Linked DNA regions of Homo sapiens: region 1 is linked to region 2. The links are contacts of gene promoters, found by promoter capture Hi-C in blood cells and fetal thymus (Javierre and others, 2016). All regions are on one chromosome and are shown on one strand. Each heading gives the region's core, a stretch centred on a gene start or on the middle of the fragment in contact. The rest is flanking DNA. Distances are from core to core; before and after follow the strand shown.

Region 1 (3,906 bases), core at 63-2,562, 120 kb before region 2:
AATATATTCCCTCCCAAAGCAGATATAGCACAAGCTTAGTAACAAGAGCATCTTACTCTTTTGTGAGATGTGTGAAATTCTAAGAGACAGTTCTTTCTCCATCCATGCTTCACAGATGCAAAACCTGAGGACTAACTATGCTGTCACTGAACAGAAACTGGCAAGCATTTTTCAGGCCTCGACTGGAATTTGGTCCTTCCTTGCTTTGGAGAGCATGAGTTTGTCCCCTAGGGAAGTTAGCTCTGAGCAACATTAAGGTTCTGTTTTCAGTAGACACTCAGCACCACAAAGTCATTCTGAGGGAAAGATACGGGTCTGAGCTGATTTGGGAGAGCACAGTACATGACAAACATCAGCTAGCAGGAAAAGAGAAGCCCTGGGGAGTCGAAATTATGCAGATAGAAAAGGAGAACCAACATTCATTGAGTGCCTTCTATGTGTCAGGCCTGGTGATAAAAACTTTCAAATTTTGTTCCTGAGAAGAATGCAGAAGTGTTCAATAATTTGACTAAAATTACATACTGATACAAAAAGGATCAATAGCCACAATGCCTCTGAATTGCAATTCACAGGGCATGGTGGTGCGTGCCTGTGGTCCTACCTACTCAGGAGGCTCACGTGATCCTCCCGCCTCAACCTCCCGAGTAGCTGGGACTATAGGCGCGCATCACCACGCTGGCTAATTTTACCATTTTTAGTAGAGACGGGGTTTCTCCATGTTGCCAGGGCTGGTCTTGAATTCCTGGGCTCAAGCAATCCGCCTGCCTTGGCCTCCCAAAGTCCTGGGATTAAAGGCGTGAGCCACCATGCATGGCCTATTATTATTTTTTTGAGACAAGTCTCACTCTGTCACCCGAGCTGAAGTGCAGGGGCGTGAACGCAGCTCACTGCAGCCTCGACCTCCTGAGGCTCAGGTGATCTCCCACATTCTTTAGGAAGAATCACATGGAAGAAATTTTCTCCAATTCCATATTTTGAGAGTTCTTATTCCTGGTTTGTGTTATTGCTGCCCGGGATCCTGTATTCAAGGCTACACTGGCATACCCAGAGATGAGTCTCATGTTGCCCCTGAAACGTCAGCAACATTTATCTGTGCAATAAGCACATCCTGAATCATCCTGTGTTGTGTTACTCTCTGGTGTCCACAGCCAAAGAGTGAATTTTACCGCTGGTAAAAATTCACTTGGGCTTTCTTAAAGAGCCTAATAATCTTAGCACAAACGGTCATAAAAAAAATTCTCTCTCAATTCTGTCTAACTTTTCATGCTAATTTAAAACTTTTGTGAATATATTGAGATACTGAAGGCAATGGCTTCCTTAATGCACAGTTTTCTTTGAGAATTATTTAAAATAATATTTGTGAAGGTACTTGGTGGCATGACTTCACACGTTGGGCACTCAGCAAAGCTCACGGGATCTCTTTGAGTTCTCTCTCTTTGTGCATATGAATGTGGGTTAGAAAAACACACTAAAAAATGCACAGGCAAGAAATAATAAATTGTTTCTCTCACAAAGACAAATGGTAAGAAATTACGTTTCTAGTAATTTGTGCCCTTCTCTGGATTGATTACAATATTTATTGTCTCTTACAAAATAATCTTGTCTTTGGTTTTTCTCATCCAGTTTTGAAGTTTTCGTAGTCCTTCATGGGGCTGAGGTGGTAGAAAGCAGCACCGCAAAGTGGGGAGTATGGATTCCTCCATGTCACCAGGGACAGGGGCGGTGGGGAGAGGGTGGAATCCCGAACCAAGAAGGCTTCTGGTGTCCTGAGAGACAAATTTGCAATCCCGTAATACACCAAATTGCCAGGCAAGCAGCACAGCACATTCAAATCCTTGACTAGCTCTGAAATGTCAACAGTGTTTTAGAGATGGCCTGACTCTCCAGACCTGCACTAGACCCACAGCCCGATTTGGGGGAAGTCAGACATATCCTAGTCAGCAGGGAAAGTGGAGGTAGCAGGAGTTACAGAGAATGCTGATGCTCACATAGGAACTTCTCTGATAGAAATCCCCTACTTCTGGTATTTCCACTTTTCTCTCTCTCTTCCCTCTCTCTCTTTCTCCCTTCTCCCTCCTCTCTCTCTCCTCTTTCTCTCTCCCTCTTTCCCCTCTTCCTTCTCTCTCTCTCATCGCTATCTCTTCTACCTAATACATTAATATCCATGGCCTGTGTGTCTAGATGCATAATCCAGCACAATTTTGCAGATCCAGCTTTGGGCCGTGAGTTAAGTCTCTGTGGTATTTTGCTCCAGAGCCAGAGGGAATTCTCTTCATTAGCTGTGCCTGTGTTCACTGACATTTCTCATCATTCGCAGAGTGACCTCTGGCTTCAATGAAGACAGGGAGCAATAAATAAAACCTAAAATTAAATTGTTTACATGAAAGTTTTTAAAAGAAATATAATATAGTCTCATTTTAAGGTTGATTCAGTTTTTAAACAATCCTTTCAATTCCCCAGAACTTCTTATCTCTTTAATACTCCTCAAAGACAAAAATCTATTTTTAAGGAGGAAGGAGTGGGGACATAGCTCCCATCCAGGGGAAAGTATTTGGTGTGGAAACAGTTACCTAGCTTCAGTGAAGCTTTGCAACAAAGCAGACCACACTGGGGCAGGGAAGGAAGAAGAGGAAGGGAACAAATATTCACGGAACATCTATTCTTGACCAGTATAGTCCTATAATTTTTCATGTGTTTTCTCCAATCTTTCAACCCCGTAAAAAAGAATATCCCCATTTTAGTGGTGATAAAACTGAGGCTCAGTGAAATTAGCAACTTGATTGAGTCCTGTCATAATGCAGAGCCTGGTTTTGAATCCCTGGTCCATCTGACTCAATCTATGTTCTATGAGACATGAAAGTCACCTTTCTCTGAATTACCCAGGTAATTTGTTTAATCTAAACTCAGGAGTTCTACCTTTTCTTGTCCTCAGTTCATTTAGAGCTGCATTAATGAAACAGATGATGCTCTATCCTGACATGGGTGTAAATTTTTAAGTGTAATTCACTTTCAAAGTCTTGGAAATTTCACTGAATTTGCAAGCAAAAACATTGATGTGTGCTATGTCATATGCATGCTGTGAGTAACCATCCTAATTTAATTCGACATTTTAATTGAGCCTGAGAAGATTAAGTCCCCATCTCAGCACATCTAATGCTTGCCAGTGCTTTGCTGAGTAGCAAACATGAGGATGTGAGGCCTCCAATGTGAAAGTTAATCTGTATGCGCATCTGTGAAGCAGAAAATACAGAAAACTAGAGTAGCAAGCCTGTGTGAAAAAATGATATGTGCTTTGGGGCCTAATAAATGGGGTCCACATTAACCTGGTTAAACATATAACTGTTCATTCTCCATTTCATTTTTCCTGTGCAAAGGACCAAAGTCAAAAATAAGCAAAACTCAGCTCTGCCCTTTGTAGAATAGGGGATGAGCAGCTGAGGAAGGTGAGGAAAGCCCATCCAGAAGATTCTATGCTGATGGGCTGAGTCCTCCCCAATCTCCCTTTTACTTCCTCTTTTCTTTTCTCATTTCACAAGCTTCTTTAAATTAGGGAGCATTTGAGTCATTAAATTAAGAAGGGGCCTCAGAGATCCTCTCATGCCACGGCTTCTTTTTGCAGAGGATGAAACTGGGGCCCAGTGAGGTTAAGCAACTTGCAGGAGGTAACGCAGGAACCGAGTTGCGCTGAAACATCGTTATCTGACACTTCCCTGCTTTGTTAAAGCTGTCTCTGCAGAGCTTGCAAAGAAGCATTTACCTCTGCTTGTGCACCTCCAGGTAGATTCCCAAGATGACTAACAAACTCTAATTTTATTATAACTTCTTAAAGATGACTGAAGCAATAAAGCATAGTGCCTAAAAGTCAGACAACCTGGGCGCAGACATTAATTCTGCCTACCACGTGGT
Region 2 (4,322 bases), core at 1,065-3,564:
TTTTATTGACTCCAAACAATCAGAAAACTTAACTTTTCATTTTAATTCAAATATGTTCACATATACACCAGAACTTGAGCTTTTCCCTACCCCAGTTGTTTTCACTGATGGTTCTCTCTCTCTGTCTCTCTCTTTCTCTCTCTCTCCCCACCTTCTCTCTCTCTCCCTACCTTCTCTCTCTCCCCTCCCCTCCCCACTCTCTCGCTCCCCTTCTCTTTTGCTCTCCCCCTCACTCTCTCTCCCTCTCTCCCTCTATCTTTCTCCCTCTCTCTCTCTCTTTCTATCCCCCTTCCTGCTCCCTGCCCCATTCCCTTTTCTGTTCTCCCTCTTTTAGACTGAGTGGTATAAAATGTTACAAAGTTTTCTGCTGCCCTCCAGTGGTCTTATCCTGGAAGTGGCAGTCACGATAGGAAAAATAGCAAAACCTTTATAGAAGATAATAATAAAATGACACACTCTTTTAGAGTGTTTTAAGATCGTGGGCTTCAGGAGACAGAAAAGCACCTGTGATTACTAAAAAGTTATTAAACTTCACAGGGCCTCAACAACCACATTTATAAAGGAAAGGTTAAAATATCTCTTCATGGTCGTCCCATGGGTTGAGATAACATGCAAAAAGGTCTTGAAGTACAGTACTTGCTCAATAAAAGAAAAGTTTCACCTTATTTAAGCCTGACAACTTTCTATAAGGTTAAGGAAACTGAGGCTAAGCACAAATTACTTATTTTTTAAAGTTACCTCAGCCAGCATTGTGGGTAGAACTCAAACTATAATTCAAATTTTCATATTCTAAGTCTAGTTCTCTTCATGACATCTCAATATTCCAAAGTAACAGTTGCTAATAAGGAACCTTAAGAATTGTTAAAGTCTTAAAGGGATATTTTCACACACTGCTAGTGGTTGCCATTAAATCTGAAAAATATGCATTCCATGGATCAGTAGTCACATCTCTAGAACTGCATCTTAAAAATTGTGAGAAACACACAAAAATTTATGTAGTTGAAAACAAGCTAAATATAAGATATTTATTAAATAAACTTTGGTGCAAATAATAATAATTGGTTTTATTTGTTGGAAAATTTCTAGGTGCCAGATGCTATTCTAAGGAGTATGAATGTATCAACACTAAAATGAAGTTGGTACTATTATTATCTCCATTCAACACATGAGGAAACAGAGAGACAGAGAGGTTAAGTAGCTTGTCCAAGATCACACATTTAGGAAGAAGGAGCACCAGGAATTGAACTGAGATGTCTTATTCAAGAGTCCATGTTCTAGTCACTTATCAATCTTCTTCTGAGACTGTCCATGGATCCACCCATGCTGTCCCATTGTGTGGCAGCACCTATGTAATGGAATATAGTGAACCTTTGTTTAAAAAATGTTTCAATAGGTATTAAATTATATAGGGACATGCTTACATTAAAATATTAAGGGGAATAAACAGTATGCAAAACTGCATACTATATTATTTCAGTTCTAGAAACCTGTGTGTGTGTATGTCTAAGGGTGTATAAATCAAAATCCAGACCTAATTAGTGGCTGTCTCCAAGTGACGGGTTATGTGTCATTTTTTTCTCCTTTGTGCTTTCTAAATATTCTGAATATTTGTTAATGAGACAGAACTGCTGTGATCATCAGAAAATTTAGATTAAAAAAATTCAGGGTGCCAAAAAATTCTAGAATACTTAAGAACAGCACTTAGTTTACCTTAAAAGTTAAAAATTGAATCCAGAAGTAAATATTTGCAAGAAAAACAATTATCAAGGATTGCTAACTTTTAGTTTCTTAAATAATGAATCCAGAAGTATAAATACAAAATATTTGCAAGAAAATATAATTATATCAAGGGTTGGGAGGAGAAGAAGGATGTTTAGACTAGAAAGGGTAGTACCTACCTAAAAGAGAGTGCTTAATAGAACTGTGCTGGATTAAGTTTGCACAGTGGACCCTATTTTAACTTATGTCAGCTCTACATAAGCAGTCTCCTGACAGTCGTCATTAGGATTCACTGGAGACTGGAACTGTGCGGACAGAGGGCCTGTCTTCAGAAGAGAAAATGGGGGAAGAGCTTTGAACCCAGAGGTACAATCTCTGGATTGGAGAGTTTCAAAGGTGCCAGGGAAAAGCAGTACAAAGAGCCTTCTTTTTGACAATAACTCTAAAACACACTTTGCTCTGTGAACGCCCGTCCTGGGCAGGGCCTATCAGCAGGGCCAGATGAGCCTATAGACACCCAGGGTGGCGCGTTCCCAGCCGCCCTGCGCATGCCAATCTTATCAGTTTTGATGGAAGCCTGGGGCTCCAGATAATGCTACTTGGCCCCAAACGCTGGACAGAGCATGCTTTTTCCTGTTTGGCTGGGAAAGGGAAGGCTGAACTGCTGAGTCTGACACTTAACAGGACTTCGGCATTCCCCTGAATACAGACTAGATCAGAGATTTTATTTTTTTAATTGAAAAGTAACTTGGGTTCTCTTTAGAAACCCTTATTTGGTGTGCGCATCTGGCTATTTCACAGAGATTTCAGTTTTGCAAAGAAGTCGGAGTTGATTTCTTCCCTCAGACAAGCTATTGGTTGTTGGTGGGCAACAGAAGTTGCTCAGCATAGACAGGGGAAAAAACGGTTACGGATGAGACTGAAAGAAAACCTCAAAGGAGAACTCTGAGAATTCATCTCAGGATGAAGCTGCAAGGGCAAAGGAGAAGTACTTGTGACACAAGCAAATGGGTCCATTGATCAACAGATGCAAGAAGATTCTTCTCCCAACTACTGTACCTCCTGCAACGATGAGAATCTGGCTCCTTGGAGGCCTGCTGCCATTCCTGCTGCTCCTCTCTGGCCTGCAGAGACCCACAGAGGGTTCTGAGGTAGGGGGACAATTGAGGGGGTGATCTCTTTATGATCAGTGCTCCAACAGAGCATTCACCCGGCCACAGCCTTTAAATGGCCGAAAACTTAGGCATTCAGAATCTAGTTTCATTCAGACATTTTAACAAATCATGTTAGTAAAGAGTGTTGAAAACAGTTATGAAAAATTGTAGAATCCTTCACTGTTAGTACACTTGACATTATGGATGCTAGTGGCATAAAGTTATTTTCCTGATCCACTGTAAAAATTAAGTAAAATATTGCTTCCATAGTACAAACAATGCAAAATAAACCAAGTCTATTTGGCTTTAAACTCTAGCATACAGATTGACTTAAGTTTTAAGTGAATATTTTAATAAAGATCTGTGTAACAAAAAACAACCTAATGTTAAGAGATGACAGAGTACATATTTGAGATCTAGTAACATATTAACAAAGTTTCAGAGTTCATCATGACAGTTGACAGAACATTGTATTATTGGTTTGGTTTGGCTCGGCTTGGCTTAAATAGATACCGTAGACCTATTTTAATACCTGATGTGAAGAGTTATTGGTTAAAATCATTTAATCAGTCTTAAAAATGTGTTCTAGTTCACAAACAACTAGCTGACGTCTCATCATAAATAACATAGTAAAAATACCAAATGGGATGTTCTTTAAGTTCCAGTTCCAACATCCTTAACATTGACTGGATGGAATGTGATCCTTTAACATGTCCCTCAATGAGTACTGTTTATTACGAAAACATCATTTCTTTGCCAAGAAAGGAATGTTTTAGAATTTATATAATTTATATATGGCTCTAAATGATAGTCTGATGATATTTTGTGGACTTCTATTCAAATCTGTCATTTCAGTTTAGCATGCACTAGACGTGAATAAACAACATTCTGTTGGCTACCCATTAGAAAGGAATGTCCTTTTCCAGGAGGGGAGGGACTTTCCTAGGCACATTCCTGACCACTGTCCAACCCTTGACTCACTCTGCTGTCCCTGAGGGGGACAAATGTACTTGACTGGTAACATGGGAAAAAACAACTGGGTGTGCTGAGTTTGGCTCTGCTCTTCATCCTCCTGGGAGTTAGCCTGATGGCAAAGGGCATCAGTTCTCTGTTTCCCCATGACAAGAATCTTACCTGGGCAGGCCCCAGTTCAGTACTGCCTGCAAACGAGTCGGTCCCATTCTGGAATTTGCTCTTAACAAGCCACTTGCTATCAGACCTAACAATGTGACTGCTGTAGCGTGCCCTTTTTCAGTAAGAAAACAGATATTTTGGCTTTCATATTTTGCTATTTTTATTATCAATGTTTTCAGAACCCAGGTAGACAAGAAGGTTGTTACTTATGAGAGCCCCCTTAGTACTATTCATAGCTTAAGGATAAAGTTCAAGGATTTAATTTGGTTTTGGGCATTCATAAAAGTGATATTTTTGAAAACACCAGTGAGAGAC

Evidence for each region. Contacts are between HindIII fragments. The CHiCAGO score rates a contact against its expected background, and 5 or more counts as called.
Region 1: a contact is called between a fragment that was not itself captured here and the fragment with the promoter of ART4 in region 2, in 1 of 17 cell types (erythroblasts). The highest score is 5.2, in erythroblasts.

What each region holds. Positions count from the first base shown.
Region 1 is chr12:14,956,047-14,959,952 of GRCh38, reverse strand. The region is part of intron 1 of ARHGDIB (Rho GDP dissociation inhibitor beta); the gene reads left to right. Among named protein-coding and RNA genes, the nearest start is that of ARHGDIB, 3.6 kb to the left of the region's middle. RefSeq lists enhancers at 1-9, 3,618-3,787. The HindIII fragment of the contact is 2,551 bases long and covers 37-2,587 here.
Region 2 is chr12:14,841,518-14,845,839 of GRCh38, reverse strand. It overlaps ART4 (ADP-ribosyltransferase 4 (inactive) (Dombrock blood group)), which reads left to right and starts at 2,314. Exons shown (of 3, transcript NM_021071.4): 1 at 2,314-2,870. The coding sequence starts at 2,727. The HindIII fragment of the contact is 16,901 bases long and covers 1-4,322 here.